Regions from separate parts of the Homo sapiens genome. Here region 1 is linked to region 2. The links are contacts of gene promoters, found by promoter capture Hi-C in human tissues and cell types (Jung and others, 2019). All regions are on one chromosome and are shown on one strand. The core of a region is centred on a gene start or on the middle of the fragment in contact, and the rest is flanking DNA. Distances in the headings are between cores, read along the strand shown.

What was found. The method cuts DNA at HindIII sites, captures the fragments that hold promoters and counts their contacts. A contact is called where the count stands out against the background at its distance.
Region 1: a contact is called between a fragment that was not itself captured here and the fragment with the promoter of ENO4 in region 2, in 2 of the 25 tissues and cell types used here (adrenal gland and aorta).

Annotation. Positions count from the first base shown.
Region 1 is chr10:116,963,580-116,966,279 of GRCh38, reverse strand. The region is part of intron 3 of SHTN1 (shootin 1); the gene reads left to right. Among named protein-coding and RNA genes, the nearest start is that of SHTN1, 40 kb to the left of the region's middle. The HindIII fragment of the contact is 3,633 bases long and covers 1-2,700 here.
Region 2 is chr10:116,848,249-116,850,948 of GRCh38, reverse strand. It overlaps ENO4 (enolase 4), which reads right to left and starts at 1,450. Exons shown (of 14, transcript NM_001242699.2): 1 at 1,218-1,450. The coding sequence starts at 1,382. It also overlaps a transcript of HSPA12A not described here. RefSeq lists an enhancer at 2,634-2,700. The HindIII fragment of the contact is 11,920 bases long and covers 1-2,700 here.

The DNA of each region.
Region 1 (2,700 bases), core at 3-2,502, 120 kb before region 2:
TCGCAGCACTTTGGGAGGCCGAGGCGGGTGGATCATGAGGTCAGGGAGATCAAGACCATCCTGGCTAACACGGTGAAACCCCGTCTCTAGTAAAAATACAAAAAATTAGCCAGGCGTGGTGGCGGGCACCTGTAGTCCTAGCTATTTTGGACTATTGAGGCAGGAGAATCACTTGAACCAGGGAGGCGGAGGTTGCAGTAAGCCAAGATCTTGCCACTGCACTCCAGACTGGCGACAGGGTGAGACTCCGTCTCAAAAAAACCCCAAAAAAACAAAAAAAATAAGGACTAAGAAAACTTTAAATATTTGTCAGAAAACTGTATCTGGGATAAATAATTCATGGCTTTTGAGCAGAGGGTAGAATTTCAGATTTGGAAGGGAATAGGCAGTATTTTTATCACCAGTGAAGAGCATTAGTTTGTGTGAATCCATTTCTGCGTTAATAAAATTGGTATAAATGACCTTGCTTCATATACCATTTGAGGGTGAAAAAAGATAATCTGTATAAAAAATGCTTAACACTGTACCTGGCATATAGTAAGTGCTCAATAAATATTAGTTGCTACTACCACCATCTCATCAACTAAAATATCCAATGCCTGATTGCCCTTCAGTATTAAGAGTTCATATCATTTACCTTTAGGGAGTTAGTTCTTTGACACCAGACTCCACATTTGGATAGTGATGGAGGAAGTTTCTTTTGGTGCTGAGTTGAAATCTGAAATCCCTGTAACGTTAACCTACTAGGCCTACATCTTTTTTTGAGACGGAGTCTCATTCTGTTGCCCAGACTGCAGTGCAGTGGCGTGATCTCTGCTCGCTGCGACCTCCGCCTCCTGGATTCAAGCAATTCTTGTGCCTCACTCTCCCAAGTAGCTTGGATTACAGGTGTGTGCCCTCATGCCTGGCTATTTTTTGTATTTTTAGTAGAGATGGGGTTTCACCATGTTGGCCAGATTGGTCTTGAACTCTTGACCTCAAGTGATCCTCTTGCCTCAGCCTCTCAAAGTGCTGCGATTACAGGCGTGAGCCACCACACCCGGCCTAGGCCTACGGAACAGCTGACTAAGGGTTAGGAAAAGCTTTGTTTGGCCATAGGGCTCTACTCTCCCTAGCTTAGCATACTTTTCCCAGGATAAATGTTTTTATCCATATGTCCATGTCATTTTTGATCCTCGCCAGCTCTCTCTGAGCCTTCCTCCTACACACAAAGAACACCACTACATAGCAAAGCTGCATTCCCTAGACCGGATTCCTGTGAAAGGTAACTAAAGACCTTTCATATCTTTTTATTTATTTATTTATTTATTTTTGAGATGGAGTTTTGCTCTTTTTGCCCAGGCTGGAGTACAGTGGCGTGTTCTTGGCCCACTGCAACCTCCGCCTCCTGGGTTCAAGTGATTCTCCTGCCTCAGCCTCCCAAGTAGCTGGGATTACAGGCAGCTAACTTTGTATTTTTAGTATAGACAGGGTTTCACCATGTTGGCCGGGCTGGTCTCGAACTCCTGACCTCAGGTGATCTGCCTGCCTTGGCCTCCCAAAGTGCTGGGATTACAGGCATGAGCCACCGCGCCCAGCCCCTTTCATGTCTTTTCAGCCACAATATTAGATCCATTAATCTGTTTTAAGGACACACCGATTTTCCTACATATATGCCAACTTTCATGGCTCTTTCCTTACCACATGGAAAACTTTTGAAGTAGTGTGATGTTGAAGAAGAATTTGTGATATGTTCACCACATATGCTTTAGAGATATTCTACATCTAAATATCGCTGGGAGTTAGAGTTGGGAGAGATTTGCTCTAGAAGCAACATCATTGGTGGTGACACCTTGTATAATGAATTAGAAAGGACTATAGAAAAGTAGAGTCACCTAGAAATGGTTTTAACTGGGTTTTACCAGTTAGAACTCTGTGATTTGGAATATGTTATTTAACTTCTCTGGGCCTCCGTGTTCTCAAATATAAAATTGCTGTGATGATCCCTACGTTATAGGATTGTTGTGAGGCTTTGTGAAGGAGGGAACACATGTAAAGAGTTTAGCACAAGGCTGGACACATAGTCAGGCTCAACAAATGGCGATGGTAGTTGTTTCCTAAGCAATTCTATACTACAGAGAACATTCTCATAAAAGGCTGTTCACAGGCGAGCTTAGGCCTTCAGTCCTTCAAATAGACACTAACACGAGCACCTGCTTTGCATGTAGCATTGTGCTAGGTGCAAGAGAATCAGACATGTAAAACAAAATCCCTGCTCTAATGTTCATAGTGAGTAGAAGATAAAAACAAGTAAAAAAAAAAAAAAACAGTTACCCTACAATGTGATGTGTACTACACTGCCATTTATGTAAGACTGCTTTGAAGTCATAGTTGAAGAGAGACAAACTTCGCTAATTCAAGTAGACTAATAGAAACAATACTTGATGTACTTTTATGTTATACTTCTATGTTCTCAGGGTCATTAAAATTTTTTTACTATGAAAAATTTCAAAGTGATGCAAAGGCGGGAAAATAATTTAACGAATCCCCATGTTCCAGTTTTCTGGCTGCAACAGTTGCCAACTCACAGCCAGTCTTCCAACTGTACACCCATACACCCACTGTCACTGACCTCAGATTGCTTTGGAACTAATTCCAGTCATCATATCATTTTACTGTTTACTGCCTGGAAATATTTCAGTATATATTTCTAAAAGATTA
Region 2 (2,700 bases), core at 201-2,700:
TAGTTTCTCAGCATCCACTGTGTGCCATGCACTCTGCTGGGTACTAGGGACACAAATGTGGTTTGATTTTTTTTCTTCTGTCACTATGTCCTTTGGGAAAATCATTTAAATTGCACTGGCCACAGGTTCTTTATTTGTAAAATGGGAATCATCATTTTTACCTCGTCGCAGTGGTACTGAGGATTGAGTTACAGTACGCAGCACAAGGGGCTCAGTAAACCCCACACCTCTCCCCTTTGATAGTATAGGCCATGAGTGGGAAAAAGTCATTCGCGGAACATCCTTTATATCAACTGCCTCAATACGACGTGGTTTTGCACCCTGACAGCACATCTGCCTCTTCATAGGACTCCTTCTGCTTGGTGTTCACATTGCCTCCTTGCTTTGCCTTGCCATAGTGCAAACTCCTAGGGGCCCCAGCCACACTGCCTTCCTTACTACTTATAGATCTGGAAGGGAGAAAACGTCTTTGCTTCAGCTGCTCACTGCTTAACGCTAAGGTATGTGCCAGATCTCAGGGCTGGGCAGAGACCCGGAAGGTGAGAAGACAAGGCTTCTGAGCCCAGCAGGGGCTCACAGGCTGCCTAGGGAGGCTGCCTCAAGAGACTACAATACACGAAGGAAATGCTGTAGGAACCCAGAAGGACGGTTGGTCCAGGGCTACGTGGGCAAGGCTTTGGTCTGAATTTTGGAGTTTAGGGCGGGGCTGGTCAGATATTAACTGGCATCCCGGCAGAGGAGCCAGTAGGATGAGGCCCCAGAATAGGCTGAAGCCAAGTTGTAGCAAACGCCAAGGTGTTCATCCTGTGATCAAAGAGGAGCTGCTTAAGGTCGGTGAGCTGAGCTGAGGGCATTAAGGTATGTGTTAAAAATGACAATTGGCAAGCATGGGCGGTGGGCCGGCCCACAAACGGAGAGGCCTCTTAGGCAGCGAGGAAGCCTGCCAGCCCCTGGGCTGCCGCTGCAGGTCAAATACGCCTAGCGCCCTCTTTCCTCCAGCTGCCTCCTTTCTGCCACTTTCTCTGGGGAGATCCCTTCACCCCTGGGTGTCCTTCCCGCTCCTTCCCTCCAGAAGTCTCCTCCGCACACGCAGGCCCAGGGCCCGGGCGGCTGGCATGCGAGATTCTGAGGCGCAGGCGCAGGCGCAAGGCGTTGCCGCAGCGCGGGGCGGGGGGAGAGGGGTTGGCGGGAGGAGAGCGCTTGTCCCAGGTCCCTACCAGGTGCCCGTAGACGTCGGCAGGCTGGAGGTAGAAGGTGGAGTTGAGCAGCTCTTCCAGCCTGCGCGGAACGTCGTTCTCCCGGTAGTACTCCATCGCCTGCTGCTTCAGCTTCTGCAGCTCCCTAGTGGTCCCACAGCTGCGGCCGCCGCCTTCTTCCTCCATGGTAGGAGATTTAAGGCTACAGCGGGGTTTAGCCTGGGGTCCCACGAGCGTCCCTGCTGTCGCTAGGCAACGCAACGTGATCCCGACCCCCAGATCTCGCGTGGCTTCCAGGCCTAGGTTCTTCCTGCGGTAAAAGTCGTTCCCTTTTATTGGAGCTAGGATGGTATTTGCGCTCGCTGCTCTGTCTTTTCTCCCTGCGGCATTAGGTCCGGGGGTTGGGCTCCTCCTAGACTCCCGAGACTAGGGCCCTCCCGGCTTCGTTTTTCACCACTTTTCCCTGGCGATTTTCCAGAGGGGGAAATCTTTAACGACCTCATCAAGCGCGTTTTGCCGGAGCGCGGCAGCCTTAGCTCCGAATTCCGGCTGGGGTCGCGCGCTCGGGTCCCAGTGGCCCAGCGTCTTGGGCCACCCCGCCCTCCCCACGCGCCCCCTTGCTCTCTGCTGTTAGTGAGCTCCTCCGGGTTGCTAAGGCCGCCCGTGCCAGGCAGGCCCACTCTGTTGGGGGAGGGATGTAGGGGCTCAGGGCATCCTTACTGAGCGGTGGCGATCTCAGGAATTCTTTCATTCGGCTCATGTTTATTAACTACCTGCTCTGAGCCGAGCCGTGTGCTGGCTGGGCCTGCTATGATGTCCAGGAGAGAAACGGCCACTTGCCCTTCTCTGGGATATTAGTGGGGGTGAAATCAATGGAATGAAAAAAACCAGTGTGGGTTGAAAATATCTGGGGTGAACCCTAAGGGATGGTTGTGGTTTGGGCAGACCTAAGGATGGGGGATGATTCAGGCAGGACTTGGGGAGGTAAAACGGAAATGGGGGAATGGCCTTGGCTCACGTTCCCTCTCCAGAATGCTGCCTATGTCCTTGCCCTTTTCAATCCGAAGTGCCTTCCTGGCTTCATTGTACCTGCCAGGTATCATGCGATTACAGAACTTAGTGTGCGTCCTCAGTTCTAGATACTTCCTCTGCTGCAGGAGTGGGCGGCGACGGACAGGGTGTTCTTGTTCCACTCACGCCTGTTTATGTTTCCTACCTAAGCAGATCAGTTACAAGATCTGTGCCACACTTTCCCCCCTCTGGAAAACATCATCTTACCTCCTCTGCCTGTTTCCCGAGTCACTTAGTACAAAATGAGGAAGTGAGTGAGAAAGCACTTTGAAACACAGTTATTTTCAATACATGCACGTATGGGTGCAGATGCATAAAAATGTGATGCTATAAGTACTGTTACACAAACCCAGACATGCACCTTCCAAACTTCCTCCGTGTTCTCTCTGCTCTCTTACGGAACGTCTCACTGTCTGTGTGTAATGGACCATCA